4 separate regions of the Homo sapiens genome follow, and regions 1, 3 and 4 are each linked to region 2. Evidence: promoter capture Hi-C in 16 types of primary human blood cells and fetal thymus (Javierre and others, 2016). All regions are on one chromosome and are shown on one strand. Each heading gives the region's core, a stretch centred on a gene start or on the middle of the fragment in contact. The rest is flanking DNA. Distances are from core to core; before and after follow the strand shown. Region 1 holds the start of MDS2 (myelodysplastic syndrome 2 translocation associated). Region 2 holds the start of ASAP3 (ArfGAP with SH3 domain, ankyrin repeat and PH domain 3). Region 3 has its middle 17 kb from the start of RPL11. Region 4 overlaps MDS2 (myelodysplastic syndrome 2 translocation associated).

What was found. Contacts are between HindIII fragments. The CHiCAGO score rates a contact against its expected background, and 5 or more counts as called.
Region 1: a fragment that was not itself captured here is called in contact with the fragment with the promoter of ASAP3 in region 2 in 1 of 17 cell types (neutrophils); the score reaches 7.0 in neutrophils.
Region 3: a fragment that was not itself captured here is called in contact with the fragment with the promoter of ASAP3 in region 2 in 1 of 17 cell types (fetal thymus); the score reaches 6.0 in fetal thymus.
Region 4: a contact is called between a fragment that was not itself captured here and the fragment with the promoter of ASAP3 in region 2, in 14 of 17 cell types (non-activated CD4 T cells, neutrophils, naive CD4 T cells and 11 more). The highest score is 15.2, in non-activated CD4 T cells.

What each region holds. Positions count from the first base shown.
Region 1 is chr1:23,621,725-23,628,390 of GRCh38, reverse strand. MDS2 (myelodysplastic syndrome 2 translocation associated) reads right to left here and starts at 1,057. Exons shown (of 6, transcript NR_167910.1): 1 at 854-1,057; 2 at 393-610. RefSeq lists an enhancer at 2,484-2,603. The HindIII fragment of the contact is 8,968 bases long and covers 466-6,666 here.
Region 2 is chr1:23,480,336-23,487,177 of GRCh38, reverse strand. It overlaps ASAP3 (ArfGAP with SH3 domain, ankyrin repeat and PH domain 3), which reads left to right and starts at 2,999. Exons shown (of 25, transcript NM_017707.4): 1 at 2,999-3,173. The coding sequence starts at 3,045. RefSeq lists an enhancer at 2,135-2,234 and silencers at 2,425-2,474, 2,485-2,594, 2,715-3,164. The HindIII fragment of the contact is 9,206 bases long and covers 1-6,842 here.
Region 3 is chr1:23,705,925-23,712,110 of GRCh38, reverse strand. No RefSeq gene overlaps it. Among named protein-coding and RNA genes, the nearest start is that of RPL11, 17 kb to the right of the region's middle. The HindIII fragment of the contact is 6,366 bases long and covers 1,595-6,186 here.
Region 4 is chr1:23,639,548-23,646,383 of GRCh38, reverse strand. MDS2 (myelodysplastic syndrome 2 translocation associated) reads right to left here. Exons shown (of 6, transcript NR_167910.1): 5 at 6,589-6,704; 6 at 5,816-6,056. Among named protein-coding and RNA genes, the nearest start is that of MDS2, 16 kb to the right of the region's middle. The HindIII fragment of the contact is 5,004 bases long and covers 2,157-6,836 here.

The DNA of each region.
Region 1 (6,666 bases), core at 3,700-6,199, 140 kb before region 2:
GCGAGCTGCCCTCCAGCCTGGGCAACAGAGCGAGACTCCGTCTAAAAAAAAAAAATTGGCCGGGCGCGGTGGCTCACGCCTGTAATCCAGCACTTTGGGAGGCCGAGGTGGGCGGATCACGAGGTCAGGAGATCGAGACCATCCTGGCTAACACGGTGAAACCCCGTCTCTACTAAAAATACAAAAAATTAGCCGGGCGAGGTGGCGGGCGCCTGTATTCCCAGCTACGCGGGAGGCTGAGGCAAGAGAATGTCGTGAACCCGGGAGGCGGAGCTTGCAGTGAGAGGAGATGGCGCCACGGCACTCCAGCCTGGGCGACAGCAAGACTCCGTCTCAAAAAAAAAAAAAAAAAAAAAGAAAGAAAGCAGGGAACGTCACTGAGAGGCTCTTACACAACTCCAGGCAAGAAACAGTGGTGCCTCGGACACAGGTAGTAACGGTGGAGACGGTGAGATTGCGGAAGCTTTGGAAGGTGGAGCTCATGCTATTCCTGATGGGTCAGTTTGGGGTGTAGAGATGGGACAGTTGAGTTTGTCAGCGGGAGGTCATCGATGACCTTGACAAGAGCAGTTTCAGTGGAGCGATGGGGGTGAAAGCCCCACAGAGAGAGCTGGAGAGAGAAAAGGAAGGAGGGATGAAGATGGTCAATTCAGAAAACACTGAGATGTTTTCCTGGAAGGGGGAGCAAAGAAATATGACGGTGTGGGTGTGGGGGTGTGTGTGCATGGGCTTGTGCATGTGTGTGTGTGTGTGTACAATTGGAAGAACTGCAGCCGATTGTGTGGTGATGTGAATGAGCCAGCAGAAGAGGGGGACCCCTGGAGCTGTGGGAGAGACGCAAGGAATTGCTCACTGTTGTCCTGGAGGAGGTGAGAGAGGATGAAGGGCAGTGTCCCAGTGGAGGGCGTAGAATTCAAGTTCCACAAGGCGTCCAGGTAACAGGCACGGATACAGGCGGGAGTGAAGGGAGAGGTGGAGTCTGAGGAAGTTTCCTTCTGATTGCTTCTGTTTCCCAGTGAAACAGAAAGCAAGGTCTCCAGCAGCTGACAGCTAGTACAGCAGGTTCTTTTTTTCTCAGGTGTTATAGATAGCTGCGCCTTCCGCTCACCACAGGTGAAATGGTTGGCTTGTATCTGGGGCCACACCACATAAAAACCATTTGAACAGCAGGATCACACTCAGCATGATGAGAGCCCACATGAGGCTGGAAGTGCAGGAACTTGGACCGGCGGGGGGAACCTGGCAGGTCACATTCCCTCTCAAGGGGTGAGTGCTCACCAAGTGGAATTGGAGTGTGACTCTGTAGCAGTGATTCATGCACAACGTGCTCTCTCTCTCTCTCCCCTCCCTTTACACGCGTGTTTAAATGTGTGTAAATTAGGCTGGGTGCAGTGGCTCACGCCCGTAATCCCAGCACTTTGGGAGGCCAAGGTGGGCAGATCACTTGAGGCCGGGAGTTCGAGACCAGCCTGGGCAACCTGGTGAAACACCGTCTCTGTGAAAAATACAAAAATTAGCCGGGCGTGGTGGTGCACATCTATAACCGCAGCTACTTGGGAGGCTGAGGCATGAGAATCACTTGAGCCCAGGAGGTGGAGGTTGCAGTGAGCCGAGATCACGCCATTGCACCCCAGCCTGGGTGACAGAGCAAGACCCTGTCTCAAAGAGAAAAAAAAAATGTGTGTAAGTTAAATGCACCATGATGAAGACTCCACTATAAATGGTGCCGCTGGAACCTCGGGCCTCCTGACTCCACATCAGTTTTGTCTCTACTATAATACTCCATCTCTCATCACACATCACTAGGGAGCACCAAAATTGCAGGGAAGAGGGTAACCCAGGCTGAAAGGAGGAAGAGAGCACTTAAACTAGAAAATTCTAGAACATCAGACCTCGATGGACCTTCACAGATCATTTGGTCCAACACCCTTATTTGACAGACATGGAAAATGTCATTCACTGACTCCCCCAATATCACACAACAGAATCCTCATCATCCCCATCATCATCCCCATCATCATCATCCCCATCATCATCATCACCATCACCATCATCCCCATCATCATCATCCCCATCACCATCATCCCCATCACCATCATCCCCACCATCATCATCCCCATCATCACCATCATCCCCATCATCATCATCCCCATCACCATCATCCCCATCACCATCATCCCCACCATCATCATCCCCATCATCATCATCACCATCATCATCATCCCCATCATCATCACCATCACCACCATCATCATCATCCCCAACATCACCATCATCATCATCCCCATCATCATCACCATCACCATCACCATCATCATCATCCCCATCACCATCATCACCATCACCATCAACATCACCATCATCACCATCACCATCATCCCCATCATCACCATCATCATCACCATCACCATCATCCCTATCATTATCATCCTCCTCCTGATCACCATAATTGTCATCTGCATGGAAGCTAGCCTATATTGATTACTCCCTGCTGCCAAGCTGTGTCCCATTTCATCATCAAAGCCTCTTGAGGTGGCCACTCTCATTATTTTCATTTTACAGGTGGTGAAACATCACAGAGCAGGTAAGGTATAAACTGGGAGACCCTCCTCCCACCCACTCTGTGAAAACCTTTACTAGAGATCTCGCATTGGGCCACTAACCCTAAGATAGGAGGCAGAAGGGGGCTCCCCTTGAAACTCGAAAGAAGTAAATTTAAGACCAGTAAAGGGAAGTTTTGCTTCACACAGAGGGGGTACTGGCTAAAAATACTAGTGGCTTCAAGAAGTATTTAGATCAGTTCATAGATAGTTGATCACAAGGCAGTCAGAGTGATCTTTTAAAGACATAAATTAGGCTGAGCATGGTGGCTCACGCCTGTAATTCCAACACTTTGGGAGGCCAAGGCAGGCGGATCACTTGAGGTCAGGAGTTTGAGACCAGCCCAGCCAACATGGCAAAACCCTGCCTCTACTAAAAAAAAAAAAAAAATTTCCTTGTTGTGGTGGTGGGCACCTGTAATCCCAGCTACTCTGGAGGCTGAGGCATGAGAATCACTTGAACCTGGGAGACAGAGGTTGCAGTAAGCCGAGATCACACCACTGCACTCCAGCCTGGGTGACAGAGCAAGACTCTTGTTTCAATAAAATAAAATAAAGACATATATCAGATCACAACACTCTGCTGTCCAAAACCACCCACTGCACTTGGAATAAAATCCAGCCCCTGGCCAGGCGCGGTGGCTCATGCCTGTAATCCCAGCACTTTGGGAGGCCGAGGTGGGCGGATCACGAGGTCAGGAGATTGAGACCATCCTGGTTAACACGGTGAAACTCCATCTCTACTAAAAATACAAAAAAAAAAAAAAATTAGCCAGGCATGGTGGCAGGCGCCTGTAGTCCCAGCTACTCGGGAGGCTGAGGCAGGAGAATGGTGTGTACCTGGGAGGCGGAGCTTGCATTGAGTAGAGATGGCACCATTGCATTTCAGCCTGGGCGACAGAGCTAGACTCCGTCTCAAAAAAAAAAAAAATTCCAGCCCCTTTGCCCTGGTGCTTCCCCACCTTCTTCCTGCTGTCATCTCCGTGTTCACTTGGCTACAGCCACAGCCAAAGCCATGGCCACACTGCTCTCCTTGCAGTTCTTGAAATGTCAAGCTCTTCCTGCCTCAGGGCCTTTGCACCTGCCCTTTTCTCTTCTGGGCCACCTTCTTCTGCTCTTTGCCTGGGTGGCTCTTTCTCCTCCTCCATGCCTTGGCCTAAATGTCAACTCCTACAGGGGGCTTTCCCTGCATGACCCCTCAGCTGAGTCAGTGCCTGGTCTCTGTCTCGTCACCCTCTGTCTCGTCACCTTGTGGTTTTCTTCCTTGCCTTTGTCACAACCACGTTATTTTATTTATTTACTTGTTTTGTGTTTGTCTCTTTCTGTTGGACAGTGAGCTGCATGATGTCAGTGTCATTGTCTGTCTTTTCATTCCTGTGTCCCCAGAATGGTGTGCTGCAGGCCCAGTGCCTGGCATGTACTATTTATTTATTCAGCACTGACTGCACCACCCCACCTCCAAAGCCCTTTATATGAATTAACTCGTTCATCAGTCCTCACATATCAACCCTGTAAGAGAGGACTTTATTATCATCCTTACTTTATAGAAAGGAAACTAAGGCACAGATAGGTTAGAAATTTACCCGAGGTCACAGCTAGTGAGAGGCAGAGATGAAAATCTAGTCAGGGGGGTCCTGAATCTATGCTCTTAACCACAACCATCTACTCCCTCTCCAGTGTTTACTGAGAAAGTCATCAGTAGACATTTGAGAAATGAATAAATGAGCCAGGTGCAGTGGCTCACACCTGTAATCCCAGCACTTTGGGAGGCTGAGGCAGGCAAAGCCCTTGAGGTCAGGAGTTCAAAACCAGCCTGGCTAACATGGTGAAACCCTGACTCTACTAAAAAATATACAAAAATTATCTGGGTGTGGTGGCATGTGCCTGTAGTCTCCGCTACTCGGGAGGCTGAGGCAGGAGAATCATTTGAACCTGGGAGGGAGAGGTTGCAGTGAGCCAAGATTACACTACTGTACTCCAGCCTGGGTGACAGAGTGAGACTCCATCTCAAAAAAAAAAGAGGGAAAGAAAGAAAGAAATGAATGAATGAGAAACAAAGGGGTGGATACTAAGGGCCCTGGAATCAGACATATGTAGGTTTGAGGCTGGCTCTGTCCTCCATGAACTTGGGTCCCAGATTCTAATTCTACTAAAAAATAAAAACAAAAAAAAAACTTCTCCAAGAATGCCTCCAACCAATAAGCAAAGGCTAAACAACCTAATAGAAAAGTGGGCAAAAGGACCGGACAGCCAATTTACAGAAAAAGAAACCAGAATGCAAAATAAACATATGAAAAGATGTTTCGGCCGGGCACGGTGGCTCACACCTGTGATCCCAGCATGAAGCAGGCAGATCACCTGAGGTCAGGAGTTCAAGACCAGCCTGGCCAATATGGTGAAACCTCATCACTACTAAAAATCCAAAAAAAGGCCGGGTGCAGTGGCTCACGCCTGTAATCCCAGCACTTTGGGAAGGCTGAGGCAGGCAGATCACGAGGTCAGGAGATCGAGACCATTCTGGCTAACACGGTGAAACCCCGTCTCTACTAAAAATACAAAAAATTAGCCGGGCATGGTGGCGGGCGCCTGTAGTCCCAGCTACTCGGGAGGCTGAGGCAGGAGAATGGCGTGAACCCGGGAGGTGGAGCTTGCAGTGAGTCGAGATCACGCCACTGCACTCCAGCCTGGGAGGCAGTGAGACTCTGTCTCAAAATAAAAATAAAAATACAAAAAAAATGAGCCAGGCATGGTGACAGGCACCTGTAATCCCAGCTACTCGGGAGGCTGAGGCAGGAGAATTGCTTGAACCCGGGAGGCAGAGGTTGCAGTCAGCTGAGATCGCACCACTGCACTCCAGCCTGAGCAACAAGAGTGAAACTCCGCCTCAAAAAAAAAAAAAAAAAAAAAAGATGTTTCATCTTATTAGAGAGGTGCAAATGGAGACCGTGTGAGGAACAGTGAAGGAATCTGATCATACTCTGTTGGGGATGATGTGGAGGTACTGGAATTCTCATCCACTGTGGCAGAGGAAAGGAAGAATGTTAGTCAATACAAGCACTTCAGAAAATCACTTGGCAGCATCTTGTAAAGCTAATTATGTGCATACCCAATGACCCACAATTACAGTCTGAGGTAGGTAGCTTAGAGGAACTCCTACATGTGTGCACCAAGACATAGGTGTAAGAATGATCATGGCAGCCTTATTGGTGATAGCGAAAAACTGGAAACAATCCATGTGCTCATCAACTGGAGAATGGATAAAGTCACTGAATTCTATTTGACAACGGAGTACTAGACAGCAGGAAAAAGGAATGAAGGCCAGCCAAAAGTGCAAAATCATGTACGTATTTTAGAAACATAGTGATGCATGAAAAAATCAAGCCAAAGAAGAATGCACATGCATTGTGCTGTTTATATAAAGATCAAAAAACAAACGTAATAATGTGTTGCACAGGATCCTCCCCATTTGGTAAAATTATTTTTTTTTTCAAAGCAAGGGCATGGAATGATAACCACAAAATTCAGGATAGTGTTTACTTCTGGAGGAAGGCAGGGAATAGGACTGGGGAGGCACACACAGGTGGCCTCAGTGGTGCTGGTGAAGGCCTAGTTCCTAAGCTGGGGCCATGGGTTCACAGGTGTTTGTCTTCATATGCCAGATATTCAACACACATTTTTTGTAATCATCAAATATTACATAGTAAGTTTTGTTTTTTTTAAAAAAATGTAGTTCCTAGGGTTGTTGTAAAAATTAAATGGGGCCGGGTACGGAGGCTCATGCCTGTTATCCCAGCACTTTGGGAGGCCAAGGTGGGTGGATCACCTGAGGTCAGGAGTTCGAGACCAGCCTGGCCAACATGGTGAAACCTAGGCCCTACTAAAAATACAAAAATTAGCTGGGTGTAGTGGCTCATGCCTATAATCCTAGCTACTTCAGAGGCTGAGGCAGGAGAATTGCTTGAACCCAGGAAGCAGAGGTTGCAGTGAGCTGAGATCATGCCACTGCACTCCAACCTGGGCGACAAGAGCGAAACTCTGTCAAAAAAAAGAAGAATTAAATGGGAGT
Region 2 (6,842 bases), core at 1,750-4,249:
TGCCTCAAAAAAAAAAAAAAAAAAAAAAAAAAAGAGGGGGCCGGGCGCCGTGGCTCATGCCTGTAATCCCAGAACTTTCGGAGGCCGACGCGGGTGGATCTCCTAAGGTCAGGAGTTCGAGGACCAACATTGAGAAACCCCATCTCTACTAAACATACAAAATTAGCCGGGCATAGTGGCGCATGCCTGTAATCCCAGCTACTCTGGAGGCTGAGGCAGGAGAATCGCTGGAACCCGGGAGGCGGAGGTTGTGGTGAGCTGAGATCGCACCATTGCACTTCAGCCTGGGCAACAAGAGTGAAACTCCGTCTCAAAAAAAACAAAAAAAAAACAAAAAGAAGAGGGGTGGGGAGGCTGGGAGAAATTTGATCACAGGGAAGAAGGCAAGTAAGATGCTTGAAGATGCTGCTGCCCTTGAAGGTGGAAGGTGCCATAAGCCAAAGAATGCAAAAACTACAGCTCTCGAAGCTGCAAAAGCAAGAAAACAGATGCTCCCTTATAGCATCCAGAGGAAGTACAGCCCCACTGATACCTTGATTTTAGCCCAGTGAAAGTTATTGCAGACTTGTGACCTCCAGACATGTAAAAGAATAAATGTGGCCAGGCGCAGTGGCTCATGCCTGTAATCCCAGCACTCTGGGAGGCCGAGGTGGGCGGATCACCTGAGGTCAGAAGTTCAAGACCAGCCTGGCCAACACGGCGAAACCCCGTCTCTACTAAAAAATACAAAAATTAGCTGGGTGTGGTGGCACGTGCCTGTAATCCCAGCTACTCGGGAGGCTGAGGGAAGTTATTGGTGATTTGTTATAGTAGCAACAGGAAACTAGTACAGAAGACATCAACATTACCGTTGGGATTGGATGAAGAAATCCAGGAAGGCTGATAGAGTGAGACATGCAGAGGATTTAGCAGAGAGCTCCCAACAACTCCAGCATTTAAGATCCCTGCGGAGGAAGTGCATCTCAGAAAGGGCTCTTGGAACAGCCAGAGGGAGAGGGCCACCAAAGAAAATAGTTCTCCTAGGATTCAGGGGCAAGGGTGTTTCAAGGAGAAGGGAGTGGTTAACATTGTCAGATGCTCCTAAAAGTCAAGCAAGAAAAGTGCCTAAGCTCAGGAGTTTGAGGCTGCCTTGAGCTATGATCATTGCACTGCACTTCAGCCTGGGCGACAGAGTGAGACCTTGTCTCTAAAAATAAATAACAAGAAAAGTGCCTATTTGGTTTCAACAGGAGAAGTTGACCTTGAAAGAACTCTTGGAATAGTTGTCGTCTCTATCAGATGGTACACATTTTTTTCAACTTTTAATTCTTTTTTCTTTCTTTTCTTTTTCTTTTTCTTTTTTTTTTTTTTTGAGACAGGGTCTCACTTTGTCACCCAGGCTGGAGTGCAATGGCAGGATCTCAGCTCACTGCAAACTTGACCTCCCAGGTTTAAGCCATTTTCCTGCCTCAGCCCACCAAGTAGCTGGGACTACAGGCAAGAGCCACCACGCCGGGCTAATTTTTGTATATTTTGTAGAGACAAGGTTTCGCCATGTTGCTCAGGTTGGCCTTGAACTCCTGAACAATCCGCTCACCTCGGCTTCCCAAAGTGCTAAGATTACAGGCATGAGCCATCGCTCCCGTCAACTTTTAATTCTATTACACAGTAGTATATGGTCATTGTATAAAAGTTAGGATATACAGATTCACCAAAAGAAAAGAAAGTTACTCATAATGTCTTCAGCTAGTGCATATCTGTCTTCAGCTAGTGCATAAAATGTTGCTGGTGCAACATTTTAGTGCATATCTTTCCGGATTTTTTCTTTTCTTTTCTTTTCTGTGCGAGAAAAGAAAAGATTCTCTCAATCGCCGCCCTGTGGGGTAAAATACCATGAGGCCATTTTAAGAGGGGGAAATGCAGGCTTAGAGAAGCAAGCAATTTATCCAAAGTAACCAAGATTGGAATCTAGGTTCCTCTGACTCCAAAACCAATGTTCCTTGCTGCGGTGCTTTCCTAGCTTTTTACTTGGAGAACTTTTCCCCAGAGGACCTCAGGCTTCAGAACTAAACCTAAGTGGATTTCTATCCTGAACCCCATCCCTCATCCGCCCCAAAGGATGGTGAGCCAGATTAAGGGGTGAAAGGCAGGAGCAGGAAGAGTAAAGGCGTGGGTGCGATCTATGGTCGGGTAAGAGGGAACTAGTACACGCACGTGTTCGGTTCTTCGCAACATCACAATCAAGCGGGCATCAGGCTTCCCATTGTACAGATAAGGAAACTGAGGTTCCAGAAGAGAAGTAATTTTCCCCAAGTCACACAGCTAGCCAGGGGCCCCGATCCACACATCCCCGGGGCGGCGGGGGTTATCAGGAGGGAGTCTCCGGATGCCTGCAAAGCTGAGGCTGAGAGCTGGGCGTACGCAGCAAAGGAGGGGTGGGGCGATTCGGGGCGGAGCGAGGCAAGGAGATTGGGCGGGACTGGGGAGAGAGGAGGGAAGGGTGGCGGGGGGGTGGTAGGGCAGAAGGGGCGAGGTCATGGGGAACTCGGAACGAATCAGCAGAGGAGGGAGGAAGAGGGAGGGGGCTCTAAGACTCGACGCGGAGATGGAACAGCCTGGGCCGTGCAAGGGAGGAGGATTTGGAAGACCCAGAGCGGGATGAAACGGGACAGAGCCCTGAAGGGGCAGGGATGGGGGAAGGCGGAGGAGTTTCTACTGAGGCCAGGGGTGGGGCATCGCGCCAGGGGGCGGGGTCTGAGGCGGTGAGGGGCTGGGGGCGTGGCCTAGGGGGCCGGCGAGGGGCCGGGGAAGCGGCCTGACGCGGTGCGGGGCCGGGACCGGGGCCGGAGCCTGGACCTTGGCGGTGGAGGAAGGCGAGGAGCCGGGGGCGGGGCCGTCCCAGCTGAGGAGCGGAGAGCGGCTGGAGGGTCGGGGGCGGGGCGTGCGGAGGGGCGGGGCGTGTGGAGGCCGGGACGGCGCCCCCGGCCGGCGGTGAGGCCGGCTCAGCGCGGAGCAGCTCAGTGCCCCCCGCGCCCCGCTCCGGCAGCTCCACGCTCGCGCCCGCCATGCCGGAGCAGTTCAGCGTCGCCGAGTTCCTGGCCGTCACCGCGGAGGACCTCAGCTCCCCGGCTGGGGCCGCCGCCTTCGCCGCCAAGATGCCCCGGTACCGAGGGGCGGCGCTGGCGCGGGAGGAGGTGAGGGGGCCGAGGCGGGAGGGGTCGGGGGTCGGCGCCGGGCCTGGCCTTGACCTCCACAGGCGTGTCGCACCCGAGCTGCGATGGCCCTTCACCGCGCCCCGAAACCTGCCCCCTCCCTAGGTCTGGGAGGACCGAGCGCATCTCCAACAGCTGCGTCCTCACCGTCGAGGCGGGGGAAGGCCCGAGGGACCGTTTTGGGGGGCCTCGAGGTCTCTTCGATGACAAACTCCACAGGTCGGGGGACGTACCCCAAGTGCCCCGCGTGACCGCCTCATCACATATGTGTTTGCCTAGCGCCTTCCAGCCTCAGTTTGCGTTTTCATCTTCGGAGCCCCACAAGTGTGCCCCCCGAGTCACTCCCCTTCTGAGAGGCAGGCTTCCCGCCTCAGTCCTGAACTTTCTTCCCCCCGGCTGCAGAGAGGCCCCCTCCCGCTTGCGGCTGGTTCGGAGATTTGGCCCGCGTTTGTGGAATGAATGCGGATGGGAAGGCGCCAGGAGCCGGGGTTCACCTTGGCCGGGCTGTTGGCAAGTTTATCGTCTCCTCTCCCCTCCCCTCTCCTCTTTGTCTTTCCCAGCAAAGCGTCCCAGGCCTTTTCTTTCGGTCTTGCAGGCTGCCCCACCCCATTCCCATGCTCTTCGGAGTTCCTTCCATTCCTCTTCTCTGAACCTGCTGCAGCTTTCCGCAGCTCCTCTGCAAAGAATATTCTAGGACAGACACCCCGTGGCCTTGGTCCAACGGAGAATAATGTGTTTTTGCAGCTCCCCATCCAAAGGATGCCCTCAATTTGGGTGGCATTTTGGACCTCAGCAACGGCTCTAGCCTTCCACCCTTCACCTTAAGTGTACTAGGCACCCACTGCGTGGCAGATACAAAGCTCAGTAGTTCATAACACCCTGCGCCAGTGTCAGGAAATCTGTCCTCTTCTCTCTTGTCAGGGTGACCCTCCATCTCGGAGTCTGTTTGTATCACTTTGTAAGGGTGATAGAGGATTGTGGAAGGAGCATCGACTTTGGGGAAGGCAGACCTTTTTTCTTTCCTTTTTTTTTTTTGAGACGGAGTCTCGCTGTGTCGCCCAGGCTGGAGTGCAGTGACGCGATCTTGGCTCAATGCAAACTCCGCCTCCCAGGTTCACACCATTCTCCTGCCTCAGCCTCCCGAGTAGCTGGGACTACAGGCTCCCGCCACTACGCCTGGCTAATTTTTTTTTTGTATTTTTAGTAGAGACGGGGTTTCACCGTGTTAGCCAGGATGGTCTCGATCTCCTGACCTCATGATCCGCCCGTCTCGGCCTCCCAAAGTGCTGGGATTACAGGCGTGAGCCACCGCGCCGGCCAAGGCAGACCTTTTTTCAAACGCTGGCTCTGCAGTTTGCCATTTGGGTGAACGTGGGCATGTGACCTGTCCTGTCATCTGTGGAATGGGGGTAATAATGTGTACCTCACATGAGACAATGCATATAAAGCATGCATCTTTTTTTTGGAGACAGAGTCTTGCTCTGTCTCCCAGGCTGGAGTACAGTGGTGCGATCTCAGCTGACTGCAATCTCTGCCTCCCGGGTTCAAGCAATTCTCATTCCTCAGCCTCCCAAGCAGCTGGAATTACAGGCATGCTCCACCACACCCGGCTAATATTTGTATTTTTAGTAGAGACAGGGTTTCACCATGTTGGTCAGGCTGTTCTTGAACTCCTGAGCTCAGGCAGTCTATCCGCCTTGGCCTCTCAAAGTACTAGGATTATAGGTGTGAGCCGCTGCACTGGCCCATGCCTCTTGATAAATGGAATGATTATCGTCAGATTAATCGGCAGATCTCTTTAGACAGTGATTGGGTCTCTTTTGTCTTCATTTGTCTCACAGAGCCTCACCTTGTCTCATTTGTCTCACGGAGCCTAGCCTACTACTTTGCACATAGTAGGGGTACATGTTTTATTAAAATAAGAAGCAGCCGGTCAGATTTGGCTTCCTTCCTTGGGCAGAGTCCACTGCCTGTGGATGTGGGTTATATTTTACTGTGGGGCTCACAGGGAAACACTGCTGTCCAGCCCATCCTTTGGAGAGCTTCCTGAGATTTGTCTTCATAGCCTCACATTTCATGACCCAGAATAGCTCAGTGCCATCCACATTCTTAGGGATTTCATGGTTCATCCTCCTCCCCAGGTTGTTCATTAGAATCTTAGAGCAGGAGAAGGGGCTCCAATATGAACCTTATCCATGGACAGAAATGCCCATTTATGCCCATACATCTGGCCTTGCCTGGCTGTGTAAGTGTAAGCACTGTGTGTTGGGGGAGGGACCCTTAGAATGGGTCTGGAGGCCACAGCAGGCTCTGTTCAGGGCTCAGCTTTGCCCCAGTTCAGGCAAGACAAAACCCATCCTCCTTTGCCTTCAGATTTTTGGTTTGGTGCACGTAGAGGTTCATTGTTACAACAGAAAGGCTTGCGGCACCCAAACACAGCTTTTCTCTTCAGCATCTCAGGGCCCAAAAAGTTAGAGTCTGAACTTTGGATTAGACTTCCCTGAGGTTTCCTGTTTGGTTTTGCATTTGCATTTATATTTTGCGATTATATTGTGTTTACATATAGTTTGATGCTGCAATTTTTTCCCCCAGTTCTGGGCTTGACTAACCCACCCCCAGGCTTGTAGCTCTATTTGACTGAATCAAAATGCAACTGATTCTTAAGTCAAGTCTTCCAGTTCTGACTGGTTTCCTGGGAGTAACTAGGGACCCTGTCCTGGGACTCGCAGCCCTTTTGTACAGTCCTGCTGGGAAGGACCCTGGGCAGATCACAGGAAACTAGAATGTCAGGGCTGAGGGACCCTTTTAAGATAGAGACCAGCTAGAAACTCTCTCAGATAAGATGGAGTAACTGATGTCCAGAGAGGCCAAGAGACTTGGCCAAGCTCCTGCGGCTGGATAGTGGGAAAGTTAGCATTTCTACCCACGTGTTCTACCCCCGGTCCTGTTCTCTTTCCTTTTAAAGTCCATCTGTCTGTCCTCCCTACGTAACTTCTCTGAACCTTGTTATTTTATCCTTAAAATGGATCTCTTAATCACTCCCTGCTTACCTTACTGGGTTGTTAAAGTTTTTTGTGTTCAATTATGAAGCACCATGCAAATGTGAGGGAGTATATTAAGATAGTCATTACGTCAACCAGCCTCTTCCTGTCTTGGGCCCCTTTATGCCCATCATCTCATTGATATTCACAACAACAGGTGAAACCGGGCCTAGGGCAGTGGAGGCAGCTGCCCTGTGTCACACAGTGGGTCTCTCTGACTCTGCTGTGCTCTGCCTGGGCTCTGTCCAGCTCTCTGTGCCATCTCTATGGACATAAAGGACACTAAGGACATAAAGATGCTACTTTGATTTGCTGACTGACTAGGGAGAAGTAGCCTGTTACAGGGAGATCAGTAAGAACCCCAGGAGTTTGTCCTGAGTCCCCAGAGAAAGGTACAGTCAATGCCATAAGAGGCAAGTGGAGCAGGAGAGGGAGAGAGCAGTAAGGACTGGTGCAATGAGGGAGAAGTTCCTGGAGGAGGTGACACTTCCAGGTGGAAGGATAGATGAACCCCATTTATCGGAGAGGACAAGGGAGTGAATTCAGAGACTGGTGGGAAGAGAGCATATTGGGAACCAAGTAAGCCATTTTGACCAGAGCTAAGAATTCA
Region 3 (6,186 bases), core at 3,528-6,027, 220 kb before region 2:
TGGCTCCAGAGCCCATGCCCTTCCCAATGCAGCTGACTGGATTTCAAGATCAGGCTCAGGCTCTTTAGGTTGATGTTCAAGGCCCTTCAAAAATCTAGTCAATTCAGTCCCATTTCCTGTCAGGCCCCCAACACTCTCTCAACTCCAGGCATACCAAATACCTAATATCCTTCTTGCTTCCATAACTTGGTGATCCCTATTGCCTTGCCTGAGATGACTTTTCTCCAAACTCTTTTCTTTGCCTGGTTTGTCATGATAATAGATTTAAATCAAACGGGTTTTTTGTAATCCGCTCCCCCCACCACCTCCCGCCCCACCACTCCTTCACACAGTGCTCACAGAACTACCTAAGCAAACTCCTGCCACACCATATGTCACCCTGTGTTCTAACCTGCTGTATCCTACAGTGTGGGGTGGCACTACTGGCAGCCCAAATGATTTTAGATGGCACATGGATACCATATTAATTAACAATGAATCACAAAGTGAGAAAGTCATTCTCTTTCCAGTTCTCTTTCAATCTCTCTGACGACAATGAGGAAGGGTCAGTATGGTGCTGGTGTATTAAGGTGGTGATTAACAGCATGGCCTCTGGAGCCAGACTGCCTGGGTTCAATCTCTGCTATACCACTTAACAGCTGAATGGGTTCTCTGTGCTGTATCCCCCAGATCCCAACACACAGCCAGGCACACAATAAAAATTTGCCAAATGAATGAGTTCAGCAAACATTCTTAGAACAGAATCAATGGGAGGCACTCCTAAGGCTTGACAGAGGACAGATAGATGCCTTCCGAGTTCATGAACCTGAATCCAAGAGAGATGTTTATAGTCTAACACAGTTCCTTCACGAACCTGAATCCAAGAGGGATGTATATAATCTAACACAGTTCCTTCACGAACCTGAATCCAAGAGGATGTATATAGTCTAACACAGTTCCTTCACGAACCTGAATCCAAGAGGGATGTATACAGTCTAACACAGTTCCTTCACGAACCTGAATCCAAGAGGGATGTATACAGTCTAACACAGTTCCTTCACGAACCTGAATCCAAGAGGGATGTATACAGTCTAACACAGTTCCTTCACGAACCTGAATCCAAGAGAGATGTATACAGTCTAACACAGTTCCTTCACGAACCTGAATCCAGGAGGGATGTATATAGTCTAACACAGTTCCTTCACGAACCTGAATCCAGGAGGGATGTATATAGTCTAACACAGTTCCTTCACGAACCTGAATCCAAGAGAGATGTATATAGTCTAACACAGTTCCTTCACGAACCTGAATCCAAGAGAGATGTATATACTCTAACACAGTTCCTTCACGAACCTGAATCCAAGAGGGATGTATATAATCTAACACAGTTCCTTCACGAACCTGAATCCAAGAGGGATGAACCTGAATCCAAGAGGGATGTATATAGTCTAACACAGTTCCTTTATGAACCTGAATCCAAGAGAGAGGTATATAGTCTAACACAGTTCCTTCATGAGCCTGAATCCAAGAGGGATGTATATAATCTAACACAGTTCCTTCATGAACCTGAATCCAAGAGGGATATTTATAGTCTAACACAGTGGTTCTCAAAGCTTGGTTCCGGGATCAGCCTCAGCATCACCTGGGAACTTGCTAGAAATGCAGATTCTCAGACACCCCAGATTTACTGAATCAGAGATTCTGAGGGTGGGGGCCCAACAATCCAGCTTTTACAAGCCGTACAGGAGATTCTAATGTACTCTCAAATTTGAGCATCACTGATCTTGTAGGACAAAGATGCAGAGCAGCTGGAAGGCAGGCAAGGCAGAACCCAGAAAGCACAGACAGAGAGGAAAGAGCTGCTTGCAGGACATCTCTGTATCAGAACAGACCTGCAGATTGAGACACTACTAGGAAGAGCCATGAGAGTTCAACCTTGTCAAGATGGTGAAATGATTTGTCTCTTATGGATCTGTCAGATGCTAGGCAGGAAACCAGGCCATCTGGGTTAGGCTTGGCTCTGCTACTAACCAGCTGTGTGATCCTGCGCATGGCTCTTTACCTCTCAAACCTATTTCTTTACCCATAGAGGCTGCATTGAGGGTCCTGCCCTCAGGTAGAGTTCCCCACACATGGCGCAGGACTCTCCCAGTGACTCATCCCTACCTTTATTTCTACTTCACTGAGAAAATGAAAGCAATGCGAAGAGAACTGAAGAGAACTGAACCCAGGACTGAATCTTAGGGTACTTCAGCATTAAGAGGCCTGAGAGGCGGCCGGGCACATCCACAGAACTCCATCCCGTATCTACCACCAGCCAACATGTGCACTCACACAGGCAGGCTCCCAACTTATCACCAACACCCCAGCCACGCTTCTATCCAAGTCTAAACCCCCTCTGTGTGCTACAAGCCAACCCTTCTCACCCACTCAAGGATATTGCTACTGCAGGTCTCCCTTCTCCCACATCAATTTTTCTCTCTACTGGATTTTCTCAGTCATAGAAAGTTTTTTTCCCACTTTTGTTCCCCTTGACAGCAGAACTCCTTGGAAGCATTGTCTACCAGTTGTCCCCAGTCACTCTCCTCACCTTCTCTCTGAAGCCCACTATACTCAGGCTTTCTGGCCCATCACCCTGGCAGCACTGCTCCAGAGAGGCCACGAGAGGCCTTCATGCTGTGAAGTCCAATGCCTAATTCAAAGTCCTCGTTTTACCGGACTCTTTGGGAGCACTCACCTCAGTTCATCATCCCTCCTCCTTCACACACCCTGACTTTACTTCCAGGTTACCAGGCACTTGGTTTATCTCCTACTTTACCGGTCCCTCTTTCTCCTTTGCCAATTCCTCTTGTTTCCTCACAACTCTTTTTATTACTATTATTATTCTTATTTTTTGAGTTGAGACAGGGTCTTGTTCTTTTTTTTCTTTTTTTTTTTTTGAGACGGAGTCTCGCTCTGTCGCCCAGGCTGGAGTGCAGTGGTGCGATCTCGGCTCACTGCAAGCTCTGCCTCCCGGGTTCACGCCATTCTCCTGCGTCAGCCTCCCGAGTAGCTGGGACTACAGATGCCCGCTACCACGCCCGGCTAATTTTTTGTATTTTTAGTAGAGACAGGGTTTCACCGTGTTAGCCAGGATGGTCTTGATCTCCTGACCTTGTGATCTGCCCGCCTCAGCCTCCCAAAGTGCTGGGATTACAGGCGTGAGCCACTGCGCCCGGCCAAGACAGGGTCTTGTTCTTTTGCTGAGGCTGGAGTCCAGTGGTGTGATTTCAGCTCAGTGCAGTGTTGTACTGCTGGACTCAAGCAATCCTCCTGTCTTGGCCTCCCAAGTGGCTAGGACTACAGGTATGCACCACCATGCCTGGCTAGTTTTTTTAAAACAATTTTAATAGAGACTCACTATGAGGCTTTGCTATGTTGCCCAGGCTGGTCTCGAATGCCTGGCCTCAAGCAATCCTCGCACTTTGGCCTCCCAAAGTGCTGGGATTACAGGTGTGAGACACTGTGCCCGGCCGCCTCTCAGGCCTCTTAATGCTTAAGTACCCTAAGGTTCAGTCCTGGGTCCTTTTCCCTTTCTGTCATACTCACTCCCCTATGACTTCATCCAGTCTCAAGACTGTAAATACGGACCTCCCTATGCTGAAGACCTCCAAACAGATATCTGCAGACCAGCCTCCAGAATGCCTACTCAACATCTTCCTTTAGATGATAGATTTTAAGTTACGCATGTTCAAAATGGAATTCCTAACTGTCAAATCTGTTCCATGCTACCTTCTCCATCGAAATTAACAGCAACTCCATACTTCTTTTGCTAGGGGCCAGAAACTTGAGTCATTCTCAACTTCACTTTCTCTCTTATCTTTCATCCAGTTGTCCATGGAAATCTTGCTGGTTTACCTTCAAGATGTATCTATCATCTGCCCATGTCTCACCACCTCCAATGCTGCCACGACGTCTGGACCAGCATGAATGCCTGGCCTCAACCTCCCGGGCTCAAGCCATCTTCCTGCCTCAGCCTCCCAAGCAGATAGGACTACAGTTGCACAAGAGCACTGAGCTGACAATACTTTCTGATAAGTCTTCCTGCTTCCACCCTTACCCCCCATATTCTGTTTTTAATATGCAGTTACAGTTTTAAAATGGAAGTCAGATCATGTGATGCCTCTGCCAACCTAGCAAGGAGTGATTCATTTCGCTCCCAGTAAAGGCCATAGTCTTTCTAACACCCTACACAGCCTGCACAGCGGCTGCCCATCATCTCTGACCCCCTCCTCCTCTTGCCCTCTCACACTGCCTGGCTGTAGTGGGCTCAGTGCTATAACGCACCTCTGCCTGAAGGCCTTTGCTCTAGTCTTCCATCTCTCCAAAAGCTCCTCCTCACAGATCCAAGTGCCCAACCCTTACCCACTTCAAATCTCATCTTCTCAGTGAGGCCTCCTCTGACCAGCCTTTCCTCACCCCCTCACCCCACTCTACTTTTTCTTTTCCCAACACACATACCATCCTATAACATTCTCTGTAATTTACTCGTGGATTGCTTATTGTCTGTCTCCCTCCATTAGAATGTAAGCTCCAAGGCAGGGATCTTTGTCTTTGTTCACTGATGTATCCTATGCCCCTTAAACAGTGCCCAGCACATGGTAGACGCTCAAAAAAAAGTTACTGGATAAGTGACTTTAGTGGACACACTTTTGTTTTGTTTTTGAGATGGAGTCTCGCGCTGTCACCCAGGCTGGAGTGCAGTGGTGCGATCTCGGCTCACTGCAAGCTCCGCCTCCCAGGTTCACACCATTCTCCTGCCTCAGCCTCCCGAGTAGCTGGGACTACAGGCGCCCGCCGCCACGCCCGGCTAATTTTTTTTTGTATTTTTAGTACAGACGGGGTTTCACCGTGTTAGCCAGGGTGGTCTCGATCTCCTGATCTGGTGATCTGCCCGCCTCGGCCTCCCAAAGTGCTGGGATTACAGGCATGAGCCAGCGCGCCCGGCCGTGGACACACTTTTAAAAAATTTTTCTTTTTGTTTTTTCTCTTTTTTTTTTGAGACAAAGGCTTGCTTGCTCTGTCTCCCAGGCTGGAGTGCAGTGGTGTGATCTTGGCTCACTGCAACCTCTGCCTCCCAGGTTCAAGCAATTCTCCTGCAGTAGTTGGGACTATAGGTACCCGCCACCATGCCTGGCTAATTTTTTTTTTTTTTGAGATGGAGTTTTCGCTCTTGTTGCCCAGGCTGGAGTGCAATGGCGCAATCTCAGCTCACCGCAACCTCCGCCTCCCGGGTTCAAGCGATTCTCCTGCCTCAGCCTCCCTAGTAGCTGGGATTACAGGCATGTGCCACCACGCTCGGCTAATTTTGTATTTTTTTTTAGTAGAGATGGAGTTTCTCCATGTTGGTCAGGCTGGTCTCGAACTCCCGACCTCAGATGATCCTCCCGTCTCGGCCTCCCAAAGTGCTGAGATTACAGGCATGAGCCACCATGCCCGGCCTCTGCCTGGCTAATTTTTGTGGTAGAAACAGGGTTTCACTGATGTTGCCCAAGCTGGTCTCCTGAGCTCAAGCAGTCCACCTGCCTCAGCCTCCCAAAGTGCTGGGATTACAGGCGTGAGCCACCGTGCCTGGCCTTTTTATTTTATTTTTTTTAAGACACAGGTGTCCCACTCTTACCCAGGATGAAGTGCAGTGGTGTGATCACAGCTCACTGCAGCCTTCAACTCCTGAGATCAAGCAATCCTCCTGCCTCAGCCTCCCAAGTAGCTGGGACCAAAGACATGCACCACTACACCTGGCTAATTTTTATTTTTATTTTTAATTTTTTGAGACAGAGTCTCACTCTGTCACCCAGGCTGGAGTGCAGTGGCGCAATCTTGGCTCACTGCAACCTCTGCCTCCCGGGTTCAAGTTATTCTCCTGCCCCAGCCTCCTGAGTAGCTGGGACTACAGGCGCCCACCACGCCTAGCTAATTTTTTTGTATTTTTAGTAGAGATGGGGTTTCACCATGTTCGCCAGGTTGGTCTTGATCTCTTGACCTTGTGATCTGCCTGCCTCGGCCTCCCAAAGTGCTGGGATTACAGGCGTGAGCCACCACGCCCGGCCTATTTTTAATTTTTGTTTGTTTGAAATGGAATCTCACTCTGTTACCCAGGCTGGAGTGCAATGGCACAATCTCGGCTCACTGCAACCTCTGCCTCCCGGGTTCAAGCGATTCTCCTGT
Region 4 (6,836 bases), core at 3,409-5,908, 160 kb before region 2:
CACCTCTTTGAACCTCAGCCTCCCATGTGTAAAATAGGGTGAGTAATAGTACTCGCTTCAGAGCTTTTCGCAATGATTAAATGAGATGAAGGTATCTTATGCATTCAATGACCTAACACATGGAAAACACTTATCTGGATGGTAACTGGTATTTGTTGCCCAAGTGACGCCTGCCTGAATGGGACCACTTAAAGGGGAATTTCCTCCTTCTTGATAACAGGTTTCATCCACTGGGATTTCTCTCCAGGTCAGGCAGCTCTAAGAACCCCAGTCAGAGTAGAAACTTGAACCCAGGGAAGAGAGAGGCTGAGGTGGCCTCTGCAGAATGTGGTACCTTGGTTTGGGAGGAATGTGTCACATGGGGGTTCTTTGCCTGAGTCTCTGGACAGGTCTCACCAGGGGTGTTGGCTGAAGGTCGCTACTGTAGGTTGTTGCTATGTCTTCCTCATGGTCAAGTACACCCCACACATGGACATGAGCCTGACCATGGCCATGATGTGGGGAATAGGTGACTGTGAGGAAGACGTGCATGAGGCATATCAAGTTGAATGGGAGAAAGCAGAGGCCTGGAACTGGGGTCATGTTCCAGGATCTCATCCCACCCCAGGCCTCCAGAGGCTCTGCTGTCAGAGCCATTTTCAAGATTTAAAAAAGTAGGGCACATGCTTGGATTGTCCCATGTTACCAGCTAATGAAGAGCAGAGCCTGGAGTCGCACTAGGCTTATCTGACCTCCAAGTCCTCTTTCCCATTACTCTGGGGGAAGTCCCTCATTCAACACAAAGTCATAGCTTATGTCATGTGTCTCCTGGTGGGGACCCAGGAACCTCCCCTGCAGCATCCTAGTACCTGGCCCAGGGCCTGACCCTAATTGGAAGCACAATGAATGTTTGTTGACTAAATAAATGAATGACGCATTCCAAGCAGAGCCAGTTGCAGGTTCTCCCTGGGAAGGAGGTGGATGAAAAGTGAACCCACAGAGGCCGTTGAAGTCTCTTCCTGCACCCTCAGCCCTGCTCCTCTACCCACAGTCTGGCCTCCAACTCTGTTCCTCAGCCCCCAGCTTCCCAGAGGGGCTTTGGAACTCACAGTCAGCCCCTGGCATCCTTCTTAAAGGTCAAGAACACCAGGGAGGGGTGAGAGGCCTCCAGACCTGTAGATGCTCAGGACCAAGGGTTGAGCAGAATAAGGTCCCGGTTCTCAGGGAGCTCCTGAACTATTGGGCAAGAGAGGCCCAAAACGTGTAGTAGAATTCCCCACAAGGGAGGGAGCATGGAGGAGCTGTGGGGGCAGGGAGGAGGAGCCCTCCATGGACTGTGCATGGGTGGGGAGGTCAGGGAGGCTTCATTTCTAAGCTGGGGACTGAGAGCCAAGCAGGAGTTGACCAGATAAATAGGTAAGAAAGGGGTAGAGGAAGAATATGTTGGAAGATCCAGAGGAAGGAGATCTTGTAGAACACCCAGAGACAGGAAAGAAGGTCTGGCAAGGGCTGGAGAGGTGGGGTCCCTAACACACAGCCACGGAGATCATGCCCAGATCTCAGACGGCGGGGAGCTGCCTTTGTGTGCTCGGGATGCCATAACAAAATACCACAGACTTCGTAGCTAAATAACAGACATTGATGCCTCACTGTTCTGGAGGCCAGAAGTCCAAGATCAAGGTGCCAGCAGATTCAGTTTCTGGTGAGGGCTCTCTTCCTGGCTTGTAGACAGCTGCCTTCTTGCTGTGTCCTCACATGGCCTTTTCTTTGTGTGTGTGCTCACAGTGGGGAAGAGGAGAGTGAGCTCTGCAGTGTCTCCTCTTATAAGGCATGAATCCCAAGGGATCAGGGTCCCACTCTTATGACCTCATTTAACCTTAATTACTTCCTAAAGGCCCCTTTTCCAAACACAGTTGCAATGGGACTTAAAGCTGCAACATGTGATTCTGGGGAGGACACAATTCAGTCCACAGCAGGGGCCATGGAAGGTTTTAAGCAGGGAGGTCCTAGGGTAAGATTGGCCTTTGGGGAGCTCTTTCTGGCCGCAGAGGGGAGGATGGGCCAGAGCAGGCAGGACTGGAAGCTGTCTGAGTGGTTGCTCTAGTCTAGCGGTGAGAAGTGTCACTGGACCAGAGGCATGGCATTTGGAAGGGAGTGGGGGAGCTGCTCAATAAGCTTGGATCCGCGGGACTCAATGTGAAAAGAGGGCTTAGAGAGGGGGAGAGGTCAAGGATGACTGCCAGAGTCCCAGCTTGGGTAAGAGGGGGATGCAGGGACAGTTTCATGGGCATGTGACCTGCATGGTCCCACACACCAAAGGGCCCAGCGTTTGTTTAATGCTCTGCTGTTGCTGTCTTGAATTATTAACAGTTTTTTAACTGTTTAACAAGAGGCTCTGCATTTTGATTTTGCACTGGGACCTGCAAATTCTTGAGCCATTCTGCGTGGATGGGGGTCTGTGAACCTCTCTCCTCCTCCACAGATCACCAGACTGGAGCAGGGAGGGAGCTGGCCTCCCTACGACCTCTCTCTCTTGAGATGGTTACTTGATACCAGCCTTATTGCTGCCAAAACTAAAACAAGGACAAAAAAACAACAACCCTCCTAATTAACACCCTCAGCACCACTAGCAGTTAAGGGCAAAGGCTTTAGAGTCTCTGAGAAGAAAGCAAATCAGGTGCTGAATTTATTGCCTTTAGGAATTTTTAAGGCTCCATTGCCTTATCTATGGGGTGACCATGTACTTTATTGACCAGCTCAGTACGCTTCTAAGACTAGAATGGGAAAGTGGGAATAAAATACTCCCTATGCTGGGACAATAGGTGCCAACTGGATCTGTCCCATCCAAACTGGGACACATGATCCCCTACTTTTCTGTAAAATGGGATTAAATAGAACCATGCAGAGAATACAGGGGGGCCAAAGTAAGTGCTCAGTGAGCAGCACCTTCATTATTTCTTTTTATTTTTTTATTTTTATTTTTATTTTTTTGAGATGGAGTCTCACTCTGTTGCCCAGGCTAGAGTGCAGTGGCATGATCTCGGCTCACTGCAACCTCCGCCTCCCCGGTTCAAGTAATTCTCATGTCTCAGACTCCTGAGTAGCTGGGACTACAGGTACGTGCCACCACGCCCAGCTAATTTTTTGTGTTTTTTGTAGAGACGGGGTTCCACCATGTTGCCCAGGCTGATCTCGAACTCCTGACCTCAGGTGATCTGCCAGCCTTGGCCTCCCAAAGTGCTGGGATTACAGGCATAAGCCACCACGCCCGGCCTTTTTTTTTTTTTTTTGAGATAGTCTTGCTCTGTCACCCACACTGGAGTGCAGTGGCATGATCTCTGCTCACTGCAACCTCAGCTTCCCAGGTTCAAGACATTCTCTTGCCTCAGCCTCCTAAGTAGCTGGAAACAGGCACCTGCCATGACATCAGGCTAATTTCTGTGTTTTTAATAGAGATGAGGTTTCACCATGTTGGCCAGGCTGGTCTTGAACTCCTGACCTCAAGTGATCCACCTGCCTCGGCCTCTCAAAGTGCTGGGATTACAGGCATGAGCCACCGTGCCTGGCCATCTTATCATTATTTATTTATTTATTAGACAGAGTTTTGCTCATTGCACAGGCTGGAGTGCAATGGCATGATCTCGGCTCACTGCAACCTCTGCCTCGCAGGTTCAAGTGATTCTCCTGCATCAGCCTCCCAAGTAGCTGGGATTACAGGCATGTGCCACCATGCCTGGCTAATTTTTGTATTTTTAGTAGAGATAGGGCTTCACCATGTTGGCCAGGCTGGTCTTGAACTCCTGACCTCAAGTGATCCACCTGCCTTAGCCTCCCAAAGTCCTGGGATTACAGGCATGGCCATCACGCCCAGCCATCCTATCATTATTTCTATACTCTGCAGTCACTCTCAATTGATGTCTAAATGTCATTCACTTGTCAATCAATTACTCACTACCCACCATGTGTCAGGTACACAGCATTGGTTCTCCTGATGTGAAGATGTACTGATAATTCATCTATTCAGCCCACATTTTGTGAGCAGCTCCTATCTGCCAGGCTAGGTTCTGAGGCTAGGCTCGTTCTGGGGATCCAAAGATGAGTGACACCACTTGTCCTCCTGGGGCTTGCAATCTTGTAGGGTACGGTGGGTGAAAGCGTGTCTCCCAAAAATGCATGTCCACCTAGAACTTCAGAATATGACCTTACTTGAAAACAGGGTTGGCCGGACGTGGTGGCTCACGCCTGTAATCCCAGCACTTTGGGAGGCCGAGGTGGGTGGATCACGAGGTCAGGAGATCGAGACCATCCTGGCCAACACGGTGAAACCCCGTCTCTACTAAAAATACAAAAAAATTAGCCAGGCGTGGTGGCGGGCGCCTGTAGTCCCAGCTACTTGGGAGGCTGAGGCAGGAGAATGGCCTGAACCCGGGAGGCAGAGCTTGCAGTGAGCCGAGATAGTGCCACTGCACTCCAGCCTGGGCGACAGAGTGAGACTCCATCTCAAAAAAAAAAAAAAGAAAAGAAAAAAAAAGAAAAAGAAAACAGGGTCTTTGCAGGTGTAATTAAGATAAGTATCAAAATAAAATCATGCTGGATTAGGGTGGGCCTGAAATCCAATGAGAGTGTCTTGATAAGAGACAGAAGAGTGCACAGAGACACAGACGAAAAGGCCTTGTGAAGACAGAAGCAGAGACTGGAGGGCAGGGGCACTCCACAAAATGCCAAGGATTTTGCCAGCAGCCACCAAAAGTTAGGAGAAAGGCATGGAATGGATCTTCCCTTAGACCCTCCATCACCCAGGCTGGAGTACAGTGGCGTGATCTCAGCGCATTGCAACCTCCACCTCCCGGACTCAAGCAATCCTCCTGCCTCAGCCCCCCAAGTAGTTGGGACTACAGGCTGGCTATTTTTTGTATTTTTTCGTAGAGATGGTGTTTCACCATGTTGCCCAGGCTGGTCTCAAACTCCTGGGCTCAAGCAATCCTCCCACCTCAGCCTCCCAAAGTGCTGGGATTATAGGTATAAGCCACCGCGCCCAGCCCACCTTGATTTCAGACTTCTGGAAGAACCATGAGAATAAGTTTCTGTTGCTTTCAGCTACCAAGGCTGTAGTAATTTGTTACAGCAGCCCTAAGAAAATAATCCATAGAGGACACACATGACACCCACATTGATAACTAAATGAATAATTATATGATAGCTACCTCCAGGGAGAGGTAGCGATGAGGAGGCGTCACAAGGAGGCTTCTGGGGAGCTGGTTATGTTCACTTCTTGACCTAGAGGCAGGTTATGCAGATGGGTTCATTTTGTGAAGGTATATTGAGCTGTACACAGGATTTGTGTGTTTTTGTGTTTGTTATACTTCAGGAAAAACTTAAAAAGATAAATTGCACAGGCCAGGTGCGGTGGCTCATGCCTGTAATCCCAGGACTTTGGGAGGCCAAGGCAGCTGGATCACTTGAGGTTAGGAGTTTGAGAGCAACCTGGCCAACATGGTGAAACCCCGTCTCTAATAAAAATACAAAAATTAGCCAGGCGTGGTGGTACACACCTATAATCCCAGCTACTCAGAGGCTGAGACAGGAGAATTGCTTGAACTCAGGAGGCGAAAGTTGCAGTGAGCCGAGATCATGCCACTGCACTCCAGCCTGGGTGACTGAGTGAGACTCCATCCCCCAAAAATAATAAAACAAAATAAAATTTAAAAAGATAAATTGCATAGGTAGATGTATAACTATAGATTGTGTTAAGTGCTTTGAAACAAAACTCATGGGTTATAGGAGACAGTATTTTTTAGTCAGCTAGGACTGCTATAACAAAATACCACAAACTGGGTGGCTTAAACAACATACATTTATTCCTCACAGTTGTGGAGGCTGGGAAGTCCAAGATTAAGGTGCCAGCAGATTCCTGGTGAGGGCTCTCTCCCTGGGTTTGCAGACAGCCACCCTCTTGCTGGGTCCTCACATGGTGGAAAAAGAATGATCTCTTTTCTTCTTACAAAGCCACCTTTCTCTGTTTACAGTTTTGTAACATTGGTAATCTGTGATGGTAGCGTCTGTCATTTATTGAACACCTATGTTCCAGAAACTTTACTGTGAAATAGGTACTATTGTCCCTCATTCCAGACGAGGAGGCTGAGGCTCACTTGCCTGTTCCTGGTAGATGGAGAATCTGTCTCATACCCTTTGACCCCACTGTCACTGTCTCTGAGCCAGCCATGCCTCAGGATCAGGCCTGGGGTGCAGGTGGAGGGCGTTGGGGAGCTTTCTATTTCCCTTACTACTAGTCCCAGTGATGTGGAGGATGACAGCCTGGAGGGAGGTGTCTGGGACAGCATCTGGCCAGGTACCTGGTGGGATGGTTTGCCCAACTGCCTGGGATGAGCTGCTTAGCCTCCCCACTTTCCTGAAAACCCAGGGCAAGAGTGTGTCTGGGAGGGAGGAGGACAAAGAGACCCAGTCACCTGGGCCACCACCTGGAGTGGCAGTTGGGGAGGAAGTGGGAAACGCTGGCTGCTTCTCCAGCCCTGGCCTCTTTCCTTCCCATCCGCTGGGCCTGACTTCAGTGCCCACCTCTAGGAGGGAGACTCAGAGAACCAGACTCACCTGCCTCCGAGCAGCTGTGGAGGCGACAGCCAGGTCTTAATGGCCTCTCCAGGGTCAGCTGAGGCCTGCCACGGGCACCTCCCCTCATAGCTGGACTGCTATTCAGAACACTGCAGCTGCAAGAAATTAGAGAAGCGAGGAGGCTGAGCAAGGAGCTGGTGCCAGGGGAGATCAGGGAGGAAGGGAATCAGGGCACCTTCTGGTCCTCCCAGTTCCTGAAAACCTACTGTCAGGCTGTACTTCCCCAA